5 separate regions of the Homo sapiens genome follow, and regions 2, 3, 4 and 5 are each linked to region 1. Evidence: promoter capture Hi-C in 16 types of primary human blood cells and fetal thymus (Javierre and others, 2016). All regions are on one chromosome and are shown on one strand. Each heading gives the region's core, a stretch centred on a gene start or on the middle of the fragment in contact. The rest is flanking DNA. Distances are from core to core; before and after follow the strand shown. Region 1 holds the start of GMPR (guanosine monophosphate reductase). Region 2 overlaps DTNBP1 (dystrobrevin binding protein 1). Region 3 has its middle 3.3 kb from the start of DTNBP1. Region 4 has its middle 19 kb from the start of DTNBP1. Region 5 has its middle 55 kb from the start of DTNBP1.

Region 1 (2,829 bases), core at 134-2,633:
ACCTGAAAGGTCATGAGGGACAGGCACAGGGTCACCCAATCTGGGGCGATAAGTTTTAATCATTCCTCCCCTACGTCCTCCAGTCCTGCCGGGCTCCAAACCAGCCAATGCTGCTGCTTACAGAAGGCCACTTGGTTTAGTCATTGGCTAACGCGGAGGCTTCCCCAATCCAAGCAAGCCCTCGGCTGGCAGCCCCAGGCACTGCAGTTAGGCCTGGCACCGGAGTGGGCAGCGGACTTCTTTGCTGAGGGGATTTATTTATGGTCTTGTTTGTGGAGCTGAGTGGACGGAGCTGTGCAGGTTGGCCCAGCCTCCTCGTGTTTACTCCTTCAGCCCCAGCCTTCAACCGTGTCCGGTTTCCTCACCTTCCTCTCCAGCTCTCAGCAAAGCCAGTCACCAGCGCACACCACCCCGGGGCACTCTGCCTTTCAGGCAACTAGTTTATCCTTCAGGGACTGGCCTCCCTTCCCCCAGCCTCAGGCTATTTCCAGTCCGGTCTCCACCTGTTCCTTAGGATTTGAGGACATCCAGGCAGAACCAGGGAAATGCCCGAGGCTTCCAATTCGCCCCCACCTCTCTCACCCCAAAGCTTTCGAAACTCTTCTCCAGGGCTAGGCTGGGACCGCGGGCTGTCCAGTACCGCTGAGTCCCCAAGCCCCACTGCCAGCAAGGCCGCCAAACTCAGAAAGGAAACCCTGAACTTGTGCCCTGGGTTCTGGTTTTTCAGACGCGTTCACGAAGTTCCACCGCTGGACCCGAAGCGAAAGCAGCAGCAATTATCAGCACTAGGAGACGCAGCCAAAAATCACCGGGATCTGCAGTTGTTTTTCTCGTCCTCTCTCCCCTAGCTCCAGTTTCCTTTTCTTGCTATAAGCGCCCTCGTACCCCTATTCCTTCTAAACCAACTGGCCACTGGATCTCGCTCATCTGTGGTCGAGTTTCACTGTGAACTTCCCCTAGGCCACCCAACGGGACCGACGTGTAGAGAATTTCATGGGCCCCCGTATCACCGCCCTTAAAGACACCTCACGTCCTGGCAGGTGCTGGGGCGCGGGAACGGGGGCGCAGCGCCCCAGTCTCAAACACCAAAGCAGGCAGGGTAACCCGGTGCCACCCCCTTCCACCCACTTGCCCCGCGCCACCCGGAAAAAAAAATCCCACCCCACTGCGACTTCCGAACGTCCCCCACCTCGGCTCGGCTCTTGAGGCTGCTCCGCTTAGGTCGGAGCAGGACATCCTTGAAGTCGAGCTTGAGGTCCGCATCTATGCGGGGCATGGTGCAGCGGCTCCTGGCTGCGGCGGCGGCGACGGCGGGGCGGGGGCGCCTGCGCGGGGCGGCGCGGGGAGCGCCGGGGCTGCTGTGCCGCGGCCGGGAGCTGGCGTGGGCCGGGTGCGCACGCCGCGGTCTTAAACACGCCCCGCCGACCCGCGGTCACGCTTGGCCCGCCCCGGGCACCGCCTCCGCCTCAGGCAGGGGTTGAGAGGCAGACTGGTTAGGGACAGATTGGCGGCGAAGCCCTTCCTCCTCGCGCCGCCGCCCCCGTCCTTCCCCCTCAGGTGTACAGCCCGTGGCAGTGACCGAATGGGGACGGGGGAGGGAAATGCGCACCGTTCTGTTTGTCCCCAGGGTCCCCGATGGAGAGGGGACTTAGCGTGTGGCTGCCTTATCCAAGGGAAAAGTCGCTCCCTGAGAGCTTTTACTTTTTTTTTTTTTTTTTTGAGACAGTCTCACTGTCGCTCAGGCTGGAGTGAGTGGCGCTATCGCCGCTCATCGCAGCCTCGACTTCCTGGGCTCAAACGATTCTCATGCCTCAGCCTCCTCGAGTACAGGCGCACGCCGCCACACCCAGCTTATTTTAAAAATTATTTCCTAGAGGCGGGGTTTCACCATATTGCCCAAGCTGGTCTCGAGCCCCTGACCTCAAGTGATCCGCCTGCCTCGGCCTCCCAAAGTGCTGGGATTACAGGCGTGAGCCACCGTGCCCGGCGGATTCTCCTTTTTTAAAATTCAAGCCCGGTGTGCTCACCCAGTGTTGAGGAGCACGTCTCTCACTTGCCAAAGAACCAGAAACCCCAGGGAGGTTGTATAGAATTAAGGAAAAGAACGTGGGCAGTTAACTGTTTAGCTGTACTGGGATTGTGGAGGCCATGATTCCCTTTGGACTTGTTGTTAAGAGACAAGGTCTCACTGTGTTGCCCAGGCTGGTCTTGAACTACTGGGTTCAAGCAATCCTCCCGCCTCAGCTTCCCAGTGTTGGGACTACTGGCGTGAGCCACTGCGCCCAGCCTGGATTTCAGGATTTTTGTTTAAGAAAAACAGTGAGGTCTGTAGTCGACGCAGATCCTGAGATTTGAGGAGCCTGAGTCCCCTCTGAGGGTTACCAGTGATGTGAGTTCGAGGGGTTACCAGTGATGTGAGTTCATTGATTCACTTATTGACCTTACCGACCTTTTATTATACATTTGAAATGTGCTGCCGGGCTTCATGCATCATCTCATTCACTCTCAGAACAACCCAATGAAGAAAGAGCCATTTCACAGATAAGGAAAAACGAGGCTTCTATAAATGAAATAACTTGCCTAAGGCCGCAGAAAAATTCAATATAAATTTCTCAGTCCTTAAAACTTGCTACAACTATTCACTGAAGCTGCTTTTGTCCTGGAACATCTCTGCCTGAGTTTGAAACCTGGTTCCACCACTGTCTAGCTAGGTGACCTTAGGGGAGTCAATTTCTCTAAGTCTCAGTTTTCTCATAAAAGGGGTGGGGGCAGGAGGGGGGGTTAACCCTATCTCCTCCCTGGTTTTTGTGAGAATTAAAGTGTGTGTGT
Region 2 (2,829 bases), core at 178-2,677, 590 kb after region 1:
CTGGAGTGCAATGGTGCGATCTCGGCAGGGGTTGCGGTGAGCCGAGATCGTGCCAGTGCACTCCAGCCTGGGCAACAAGAGCGAAACTCCATCTCAAAAAATAAATAAATAAATACAGTATATGGTTAAAGTATGTCATTATACATATTTCTGTGCTTACTAATGTGCCATTTGACAGATGTGTGGTAAAGATGTATGTGGGAGAGGGTATGCTGCTTTTCCTTATCTGTATTTGTTATGACACAATCACTGATACCTACATTTTCCTTTCTCCTTTCTAGTTCTTCATTAGGTTTCTTTTTATGGTTGCTAAATCTAGAGATTTTTCTTCTCTGAAGTGAAAAGTGCTTAATATGATATTTGCTTCCTTTGTTTTGTTGTGTGAAGAACAGAAATGAACATGAAAGGAAGTGTAGTACAAATTAATCAGTAATGTATTGTTTACTATTTACATTTTATCTTTATTTTTTCTCTAGAAACTTAGTTGAAATAACTTCATTTTACTGAAAAATTTATGTTAGAGCTATCAACTTTTTGTGTGGTACATTTTTTGGGGATAGGGTTGCATTTTAGGAGTTAATATAGAAAATTTACATCCGTAAGACGGTGTCAATAATGTGTTTATACATCGCACTGAAACAGTCTTTTCCCATTGGAACTAAAATTGAATGTGAGAAAGACCATTTTAAATAGCAAATGTTTAAATCATATTTTTAATTTTAAAAATGTAATATACATAGCATAAAATGTATCTTAACCATTCTTAAGCTTAGTAGTGCTGAGTACGTTCACATGGTTGTGCATCCAATCCCAAAAACTCTTTTCATCTTGCAAAATGGAAACTCTGTACCTGTTAACCAACAACTCTCATTTCTACTCCCTCCTCTCCATCCCAGGCAACCATCATTCTATTTGCTTTCTCTGTGAATTTGACTATTCTAGGAACATCATATAAGTGCAATTATAAAGTACTTTTGTGTGTGACCGGCTTATTTCATTTAGCATAATGTTTTCAAAGTTTATGTTGCAGCATGTGTCAGAATTTTCTTTCTTTGAAAAGCTGAATATTCTATTGTAAGTATGTACCATATTTTGTTTATTCATCTGTTGATGGACACTTGAGTTGCTTCCACTTTTTGGCTGTTCTAAATACTGCTTGCTGCTAGGAACATGAGTGACAAGTACCTTTTTGACACCTTGCTTTCAGTTCCTTTGGGTATATACCCAGCAGTAGAATTACTGGATCATACGGTAATTCTGTGTTTTATTCTTTCTGGAAACACCATACTGTTTTCCATAGTGACTGTATCATTTTACTTTCCCATCAGTATTGTATAAAGGTTCTAATTTCTTCCTATCCTCACCAACGCTCGCTATTTTCTTGTTTTTTATTATAGCTACTCTAATGAGTATGAGGATTTTCCCCTGTGTTTTCTTCTAAGAGTTTTTCTTGTCAAGATTGTTTTGGCTGTTGAAGGTCATTTGAGATTTCATATGAATTTTAAGATGTATTTTCTATTGTTTGCAAAGAATGTCATTGGGGTTTTGATTGGGATTAAATTGAATCTGGTCATTTTGCTTATTACAGATAACAATGTTAAGTATTCCAATCCATTAACATGGAGTGCTTTTTCTATTTATTGATGTCTTCTTTAATTTCTTTCAGTATTGTTTAGTAGTTTTCATTGTATGAGTCTTTCATCATCTTTGTTAATTCCTAAGTATTTTTTGATGCTATCATTTATGAAATTGTTTTCTTAATTGCTTTTTTTGAATTATTTATTGGTAGTATATAGAAACAACTGACTTAATTGTTGTGTGTTGATTTAATATCATACTTTGCTGAGTTCCTTTATCCTGATAGTTTTTTGTGTGGAACTTTCAGGGTTTTCTGCATATAAGATCATATCATTTATGAATAGAAATCATTTTGCTTCATTCATTCCAATTTGAATACCTTTTATTTCTTTTTTCTTGCCTAATTGCTCTGGCTAGACCATCCAGTACTGTGTTGAATCGAAGTGGAAAAAGCAGGCATCCTTGTCTTGTTCCTTGTCTTGATCCTGATCTTACAGGAAAAGCTTTCAGTCTTTCAACATTGAGTATAATGTCAACTATGAATTTTTATTATGTTGAGATTGTTCCCTTCTACTTTAGTGTTTTTATCATGAAAGGATGTTGAATTTTGTCAAATAACTTTTCTCCATGAATTAGGATGACCATGTGTTTTTTCCTTTCGTTCTACCAATCTGTCATATTATTACATTGACAGATTTTCATATGTTGAGCCATTCTTGCATTCCAGGAATAAATCCCTCTTGGAAATTGTGTATAATGCTTTTAACACAGTGCAGAATTTAGTTTGCCAGTATTTTGTTGAGGATTTTTGCATTAGTATTCATAAGGGGTATTGGTCTGTAGTTTCCTTTTCTTGTATGCCTTTGGCTTTGGTATCAGGGTAATGCTGGCTTGTAGAATGAGTTAGGATTTATTCCTTCCTCTTCATTTTCTTTTTAAAAAGATTTTGAGAATGGTCAATGTTGGTTCTTTTTTAAATGTTTGGTAGAATTCACCAGTGAAGCAATCAAGTCCAGGGTATTTCATCTTGAGGTTTTTTATTACTGATTCAGTTTCCCATTTCTTCAGGATTCAGTCTTGGTATGTTTTGTGTTTGTGGGAATTTGTCCACTTCAGCTAGGTTATACAGTTTGTTAGCATACATTGTTCATAGCACTCTCTCATAATCCTTTTTATTTCTGTAAGATTCGTAGTAATAGTCCCACTTCATTATGGTTTTAGTAACTTGAGTCTTTTTTTTTTTCTTAGTCA
Region 3 (2,829 bases), core at 180-2,679, 570 kb after region 1:
CCATTAACTCGTCATTTAACATTAGGTATATCTCCTAATGCTATCCCTCCCGCCTCCCTCCACCCCACAACAGGCCCCAGTGTATGATGTTCCCCTTCCTGTGTCCATGTGTTCTCACTGTTCAATTCCCACCAATGAGTGAGAACATGCGGTGTTTGGTTTTTTGTCCTTGCGATAGTTTGCCGAGAATAATGGTTTCCAGCTTCATCCATGTCCCTACAAAGGACATGAACTCATCATTTTTTTCACTGCATAGTATTCCATGGTGTATATGTGCCACGTTTTCTTAATCCAGTCTATCATTGTTGGACATTTGGGTTGGTTCCAAGTCTTTGCTATTGCGAATAGTGCCACAATAAACATATGTGTTCATGTGTCTTTATAGCAGCATGATTTACAGTCCTTTGGGTATATACCCAGTAATGGGATGGCTGGGTCAAATGGTATTTCTAGTTCTAGATCCCTGAGGAATCGCCACACTGACTTCCACAATGGTTGAACTAGTTTACAGTCCCACCAACAGTGTAAAAGTGTTCCTATTTCTCCACATTCTCTCCAGCACCTGTTGTTTCCTGACTTTTTAGTGATCGCCATTCTAACTGGTGTGAGATGGTATCTCATTGTGGTTTTGATTTGCATTTCTCTGATGGTCAGCGATGATGAGCATTTTTTCATGTGTCTTTTGGCTGCATAAATGTCTTCTTTTGAGAAGTGTCTGTTCACATCCTTTGCCCACTTGTTGATGGGGTTGTTTTTTTCTTGTAAATTTGTTTGAGTTCATTGTAGATTCTGGATATTAGCCCTTTGTCCGATGAGTAGATTGCAAAAATTTTCTCCCATTCTGTAGGTTGCCTGTTCGCTCTGATGGTGGTTTCTTTCGTACCACCCCTTCTTTAATAGCATCTTTCTCTTTGGTTCTAACTCCGCCAAATCCTCATTTATCACTTTGTCTCCAATAAGAATCTGCTGAGACAGGAAACCCCCTTTCATCAACGAGTAGGGCTTCTCAAATGTTAACATGAATAAAAATCACCCGGGGGGTCTTAATAAAACTCAGATTCTGATTCAGTAGGGCTGGCTGGGGCCTACGATTCTACCTTTGCAGGAAGCTCCCAGATGATGCGGCTGCTGCTGGTCAGGGAAGCACTATTTCAGGAAACTTCTTAGCAGCTTTGGTGCTCACCCCAAACGTTGTATCACCAAAGCTTTTCCTGGGCGCAACTAATATGCTCTCAAAAAATCAACTCTCTGCTGGGCGCGGTGGCTCATGCCTGTAATCCCAGCATTTTGGGAGGCCAAGGCAGGCGGATCACTTGAGGTCAGGAGTTTGAGACCAGCCTGTCCAACATAGTGAAACCTTGTCTCTACTAAAAATACAAAAATTAGCTGGGCGTGGTGGCGGAAGCCTGTAATCCCAGCTACCCAGGAGGCTGAGGCAGGAGAATCACTTGAACCCAGGAGGTGGAGGCTACAGTGAGCCAAGATTGCACCACTGCACTCCAGCCTAGGTGACAGAGGGAGACTCCGTCTTAAAACAAAACAAACAAAAAAACCCCAAACAAACAACAATCAACTCTCAACCAATTCCTGAATTAAGATTAGGTCAATAGCTTCCATACTGATGTTGGTTCTCAAACTGTACTTAAAAGCTTTGTTTTTTTTTTCATTTTGCCAATCCATCTTCCTAGTTTCTGGCTGATTACTGTTACTTATGTAAACACGACATGTCACATGCTTCAACTCTTGGTCCTTAATCATTCCTCCTGAGCAACTCATGTACAACAGTAGTTATTTTCTAATTTTTTTAATATTTACTTCTTTAAATCATAAATTATCTTTTTATTAGCACTTTTAAAACTTTCACTGTTTTTTAATTTAATAGATATGATGGAATTAAGAATGTTCAGAAAGCACCTCAAATACAAACATGCCATAGACTAATAAACAGTGCATTGGTCAAGACAGAAATGATCAGGCACAACCAGTAAAGCTATTTTTTAGTGACAGGCAAGAGTCTTTTTTGAGTGGATTTGGTGCTTTGTTGGAATGTATGAAACTTAGTAAATTGAAAGCTTATGTGTAGAGTTTAATTGAATAAAAGAAAAAAATTTAATATTTCCCAGTACTTGTGGTTTTCAAATCTACTAGATACTAAGGGACCTGTCTGTAGATTTGATCATTTGATCACTTGCTTTGTTCCAGGCACTGTTTCTGAGAGGTAGAAGAAGGCTCAATAAACAGCACTCCTCTTTCTTACTTGTCTGAGCAAACTGAGAAATAAAACAATAGTGTCAGCATAAAGAGGCCAAAATATCACTTTTATATCTAGGAAGACTGATGGAACACATGGCTTATATTCATGGGCAAGCAGAACTTCTAGTACCCAGTCACAAAAAGCACTGGGTTGCCCTTCAAGCCTGTCTTTAGGCAGCAGAATGAATGCTCTTTGTTGGAAGTGTTCACTCAACAAAAAGAAAAGAAGATGAGACCAAGCTCCTTACTTCTAGCTCACTAATCATCGTAGTCACCTCTTCCCCACCAGGAGAGGCTGGGTACTTCTTTATGTTAGCAGAAGAGCTCCCTTCCCATGGAAGAAAACATCAAGAGTGGGGAAGAGGTGGTCCCCCAGCTACAAGCTAAGTCCTTTATCTTATTTAACTCCTGCAACAAGACATTTACTGGGTGTCTGTTATGTGCCATTCACTGTTTTCATTGCTGGGGATGCAAAGCTTAATAAGACAGAGCAGTTTACATCTGGGCCTGTACTTGTGCTACTTACCTCACTGGCCTCATCCAATCCCAGCCCTAACAGATCCTGTGTATTTAAAA
Region 4 (2,829 bases), core at 160-2,659, 560 kb after region 1:
TAGCATTGTCTGAACCAACAAGAGAGACTTCCCTGAGTAAGTGGCCTCCAAGTCAAGCCTGAGGGATGAATTGAGTTAAAGGGATATCAAGGGCACATGCTCAGGATTAGGGCCAGGAAGAGAGGTTTTCTTCAAATGATATTACAGCCATGCTGTAGCCACAAGAACCATTCAGCAAGATCATGTGTGCTTTGCTCCCTCAAGCCCTTTTTTCCTGTATGTGGACTTTGTCCCTGATTGAAATTCTCTCCAGATTCAGTTAATGCCACTTCCTCTTTTAAGCTTTCACTGACTCTAAGAAAAGTTAGACACCCCTGCCCTGTGTGCTTGTGTGTTACTGACACATCAAAGGTACTTGTTAAATATTCATTGGATGTTCAGCAAATAAATATAACGGCGCCTTATTCAGTAACACTCTTTTGCTTGTCCAACCCATCACCAGACTCTGAGCTCCCTGGAGCAGAGGCTGTGTCTTGCTCATCCTCTATCACGATGCTGGATTTGTGGCACTTTAAAAATGTTTGTTGAATGAATGCATGAGGTTAGTAATGAGGATAAGAATAAGGGCTGTGATAAAGGAGACCTATGAGATGAGGTTTCAACGTAAGTTGAGGTCAGATCGTGGAAGACCTTAAATATCCTTTGAAGGAGTTTGCACTTCGTCATGTGGGGCGTGGTGGAGCTGCTAAAAGTGTCTGAGCCAGACTGATTTGATTAGAACTGTGCTTCATGAAGGTAACATTGGAGAGGCTGGGGGCAGGGGCCAACTGGGAAGTTGCTTAGATTAGTGGTAGTAGAAAGGGACAGGAAGGAGGGAAAAGCTGCAAGGGGATGATTGGCTGCATCAGAACCTGAGAACTCATTTCAAGTGAGAGAATCACTCTGGGGCATTTGCCCCCAGAGGCTGCAGTTCACATAAACTCTCTGTAAAGTTTCTTAAGAATTCTCCAGAGGAACATGAGTTTTCTAGTTAGGTAATTAAGAAATAGCTATGTTCTCAAGAGAATAGCTGAATGCCCTAGATAATTTCTCTAATTTTGATTTAGCAAATGCGTGAGACAACTATGCCATCCTTCCTTTTTGGCTGATGCCCACTTCCTTCAGACTAAATAACCATTTAACCATTTAATCACATTGCAGCAGCATCAGTCACCTATGTCGTCTTTAGAAGCTTCACTATGTCAGCTCCTGGATTTGGGCTTCCCTCTGCTAACTAGAGTTTATGGCTCATTTTTATTGCTCCATCTCCTAGTAGCTGTAATTTCCAATACTGTAGATGATGCTGTGGTTTTGTTTGTTCATTAAAAGTAAGTAAGTCCAAAAGAAAAGGGAGCATACCAAAAACTTACGCTGTATTGCAAATTTTATACCAGAAGTCAGGAATGAGAAAATGTAAGGTTCTCCAGGCATTTAAATGTTAATTTCTCTGCCCTGCATATGTTTCAAAAGATGTTCCAAATCTGATCCTGAATCCAAACTAATCATCCATAATGTGGGCGGGTTAGCATTAGCATAATTTATCTTCTGATTTTTTAATTTCATAAACAATATTTATACATAACTATTCTGTATACTCCTGAACATTTACGAGGGCCTATCATGTGCCAAACTCTTCTGTATTTTGTATCTTCATGTACCTAAAGCTTTCATCTTCACACAACTCCTGCAAGATGCTGTGTTATTATCTCTATTTTACAGTTGAAGAAACAGGCTCAGAATGGTTCATTGACTTGCCTGAGGCCACACAGCTGAAAGGTGATGGAGCCTGTGGGAAATTCAAGTCACCTTGGCTCCAAGCCCCACTCCACCATGCTGCCTTTCTCTAAGATTGAACCAGAACTCTACAACTCAGCAAAAAGGTTGAAAGTCTTCCCTAACATAGGTGAATAAAATTAAAGCTATCTTTCATTCTGTCCTTTCATCCAAGCAGAGAACAAGCCTCAGTAAGTTTACCAGTTTGAGCAAAAAAACCTGATTCCCAACAGCAAACAGTATGACCACAAAATGTGTGCCCACATGAAAGTCATTTCCTCAATGGAATGATCTGTGCAGCAAACCACCATGGCACACGTTTACCCATGTAACAAACCTGAACATCCTTTATAAGTACTCCGAACTTAAAAGTTGGAAATTAAAAGAAAGTCATTTACTCTTTTTAATGAAACCCTTTTCTCAGAAGGTTGTGGCCCTGTGTCAAATGTGACTGGACAATATGATTGTAACAATACTGCAGGCCTCAGTGGACTGTTTCATAAGAAATCTCTCGGCTGGGCACAGTGACTCAAGCCTGTAATCCCAGCACTTTGGGAGGCCGAGGTGGGCGGATCACCTGAGGTCAGGAGTTCAAGACCAGGCTGGCCAACATGGTGAAACCTTGTCTCTACTAAAAATGCAAAAATTAGCTGGGTGTAGTGGCAAGTACCTGTAATCCCAGCTACTCTGGAGGCTGAGGCAGGAGAATCGCTTGAACCCAGGAGACAGAGGTTGCAGGGAGCCGAGATCGCACTACTGAATTCCAGCCTGGGTGACAGAGCAAGACTCCGTCTCAAAAAAAAGAAACCTCTCACACCATATAAGCACTCTTTCTGTATATAATGATAAATACTTTGTTATTATATGGAACAATTCTCCAAAGCACTTAAAGATCATTGATTGCACATTAATATTTACAACAGCCCTACAAGTACTTTCTTTTTTCTTTTTTTTTTTTTTTGAGTCTTGCTCTGTTGCCCAGACTGGAGTGCGGTGGCACAATCTCGGCTCACTGCAACCTCCACCTCCCAAGTTCAAGTAATTCTCCTGTCTCAGCCTCCTGAGTAGCTGGGATTA
Region 5 (2,829 bases), core at 134-2,633, 520 kb after region 1:
TATTGGCATTGAACACAAAATGTAACAGGACAACCTGAAATTTAAATCCAATTACATATGAGAATTTAATATATGATAAGGATGGCATTTTATCTAAGTGGGAAAATAATGCATTATTTAATAAATGGTGGTGATACAAATAATCTAAGTGGAAGAAAATTAAATTAGATCTCTTTGTTTTACCATATATGAAGACAAATTTCAGGCTAAATGGCTAAAAGACTTAAATGTAGAATATTAACAACTTAAAATTCTGCAAGAAAATTTAGGAGACAATATGTGGACAAGATTGGAAAAACAGATGACACAAAATAAAAAATAGAGATTTTATCATAAATTTAAAACAATTTTATAGCTTAAAAACATAAGAGTCGGGCACAGTGGCTCACGCCTGTAATCCCAGCACTTTGGGAGGCTGAGCCGGGTGGATCACCTGAGGTCAGGAGTTCGAGACCAGCCTGACCAACATGGAGAAACCCTGTCTCTATTAAAAATACAAAATTAGCTGGACGTGGTAGCGTACGTCTGTAATCGCAGCTACTCGGGAGGCTGAGGCAAAAGAATCACTTGAACCCTGGAGGCAGAAGTTGCAGTGAGCCGAGATCATGCCATTGCACCGCAGCCTGGGCAACAAGAGTGAAACTCCATCTCAAAAAAAAAAAAAAAAACCTTAAAGAGTTATAAGCTTGGACAAGTACTTGCAATTCAGAGGACATATGAGGTTAGTTATACCATGCAAAAGTTTCTTTCAAATTAAAAGTAAGGAATAAACAAACAAAAACTTTGGCAAAGGACATGAAGAGACTGTTCATAAGAGGACAAATTCAAATGGTCAGCAACGTATGAGAAGATCAAACTTGCTAGCAGTTGAGAAAATGCAAATTAAAATAAAATTATAAGGTATCTTTTATTCCCAACAGAATGGCAAATGTTTTAAAGAATTATAATGCCTATCACTGGCAAAAATGCTAATTGATAGAAATGTTAATTATTTCGGCTTTTTGGGAAAGCAATCGGGCAACATCTATTACATTTAAATACACATGTACATGCAAACACACACACACATGCACACACACACCTCTTCTTAGTATATAGGGAAACAAAGAAAACCTCATATTTAATGGTAAAATTTTGAAAGCATTCCCTTCGAGATCAAAAACAAAACAAAGATTTCTGGTAAAACTTCTCTAATTAGCATTAATCTAGTTCCTAGTAAGAGCAGGTTAAATAAGGGAAGATTTTTTTGTTTTGTTTTTTGGTTTTGATTTTGTTTTTGTTTTTTGTTTAGAGACGGAGTCTCACTCTACCGCCCAGGCTAGAGTGCAGTGGTGCAATCTCGGCTTACTGCAACCTCCGCCTCCCGGGTTCAAGAATTCTCCTGCCTCAACCTTTTGAGTAGCTGGGACTACAGGCACCCGCCACCACACCCAGCTAATTTATAAGGGAAAGTTTTAAGAATTGTCAGAAAAGACTTTCATTATTTTTCAGATAAGAAAATTATGTCTAGAGAAATTGAAAGAATCCAGAGAAATTATAAGAATTAGAGAGTTTAGCAAATTTGCTTTACACAAAATTACTGTCTGTATAATGAATCTTATTTCTGAATACCAGCCACCAAATAATTAGAAAATAAACAATTTTTAATTTCTTATTTGTAGTAGCATTAAAAATAGTAGATGTCAAGGAGTAATCTACCAGAAAATATATAAGATTATGGAGAAAACTATAACATCTTTTAGAGAACTTAAAGACTACACAAATAGAGAGACAAGGTATTCTCATAGATTGGAATACACATGCCAGTTCTCCCCAGTTTAATAGATTTGGTGCAATCTCAGTCAAAACTCCAACAGATCTTTTTTTTATGAAACTCAACAAGTTGATTCTAAAATTTAAGTAAAAACACAAATGGCCAAGATAGTTAAAATCCTCTTGAAGAACAAAGTGAAAGGATAGCTCCACCAGATAGCAAGAATTTATAAATGTATAAAACCAAGAGAGTATAGTATTGGCTTAGAGATAGACAGACTAATGGAACAGAGCCCAGAAACAGAATTCATTATCAAGTTACAAGCTTTTTCTCAAGAATTATAACTTGTCCAGTGGGATGTGACTTTAAAACCCAAAGGACCTTCCCTGTAATTTTCCTACCAGACTTTTCCAAAGGGTCCATACGATATATTTTCTGCCACAAGCACTTTGAGCATCATTGGATCCTCTGGTAATAAGGGGCAAGGGGCAAAACCGCTTTGTATCAATGCCTTGACAAGTTGGAGAGATTTGCTGTGGGCCCCACTCAAAGCTAACAGCCTTGCTGGTCACCCGATAAATGAGTCCATATAATACCTTTGTATAAGGAGCAACAAATCCAACCATAATAGTTTAACCAAATAGAGGTTGATTTTTGTCACATACTAAGGAGTCTGGAGGTAGATTGCAACAGTGTGTCAGGATCCTTCTATCTTTCTGCTCTACCATCCTGCACTTATGATCTGTGCTCAGCTGATTTCTTTGGGTTCATGGGCACAGGATGGCTACCCCAGCTCCAGATAGGAGAAGGGAGGGAGATAGGAAGAGGTGGCACCTTTTCCAGAAATCTAGAGAGCATGTCACAGTAACCAGACTTTGATACTTGTTGATTCCTAGCTGCAAGGGAGTCTAATATTTTTAACTGGATACACTGCTGCCCAAACAGAATTGGGGTTCTGTTAAAAAGGAGAAATCCATATTGGTAAACAGTTAGTAGTTGTCTGCCATAGGATCCAAACGTGGTATGTATTATTTCCAAAATTCAAAAACACCTATAAAAGATGATCTTTCTCTTTA

What was found. The method cuts DNA at HindIII sites, captures the fragments that hold promoters and counts their contacts. A CHiCAGO score of 5 or more calls a contact.
Region 2: a fragment that was not itself captured here is called in contact with the fragment with the promoter of GMPR in region 1 in 1 of 17 cell types (naive CD4 T cells); the score reaches 5.1 in naive CD4 T cells.
Region 3: a contact is called between a fragment that was not itself captured here and the fragment with the promoter of GMPR in region 1, in 1 of 17 cell types (naive CD8 T cells). The highest score is 6.2, in naive CD8 T cells.
Region 4: a contact is called between a fragment that was not itself captured here and the fragment with the promoter of GMPR in region 1, in 14 of 17 cell types (naive CD4 T cells, total CD8 T cells, total B cells and 11 more). The highest score is 13.9, in naive CD4 T cells.
Region 5: a fragment that was not itself captured here is called in contact with the fragment with the promoter of GMPR in region 1 in 2 of 17 cell types (total B cells and naive CD4 T cells); the score reaches 5.8 in total B cells.

What each region holds. Positions count from the first base shown.
Region 1 is chr6:16,237,141-16,239,969 of GRCh38, reverse strand. GMPR (guanosine monophosphate reductase) reads right to left here and starts at 1,383. Exons shown (of 9, transcript NM_006877.4): 1 at 1,190-1,383. The coding sequence starts at 1,276. RefSeq lists silencers at 1,281-1,380, 1,501-1,600. The HindIII fragment of the contact is 2,876 bases long and covers 592-2,829 here.
Region 2 is chr6:15,647,556-15,650,384 of GRCh38, reverse strand. All of the region lies in intron 3 of DTNBP1 (dystrobrevin binding protein 1), which reads left to right. Among named protein-coding and RNA genes, the nearest start is that of DTNBP1, 14 kb to the left of the region's middle. The HindIII fragment of the contact is 1,313 bases long and covers 771-2,083 here.
Region 3 is chr6:15,664,905-15,667,733 of GRCh38, reverse strand. No RefSeq gene overlaps it. Among named protein-coding and RNA genes, the nearest start is that of DTNBP1, 3.3 kb to the right of the region's middle. The HindIII fragment of the contact is 444 bases long and covers 1,208-1,651 here.
Region 4 is chr6:15,681,057-15,683,885 of GRCh38, reverse strand. No RefSeq gene overlaps it. Among named protein-coding and RNA genes, the nearest start is that of DTNBP1, 19 kb to the right of the region's middle. The HindIII fragment of the contact is 472 bases long and covers 1,174-1,645 here.
Region 5 is chr6:15,716,910-15,719,738 of GRCh38, reverse strand. No RefSeq gene overlaps it. Among named protein-coding and RNA genes, the nearest start is that of DTNBP1, 55 kb to the right of the region's middle. The HindIII fragment of the contact is 1,392 bases long and covers 688-2,079 here.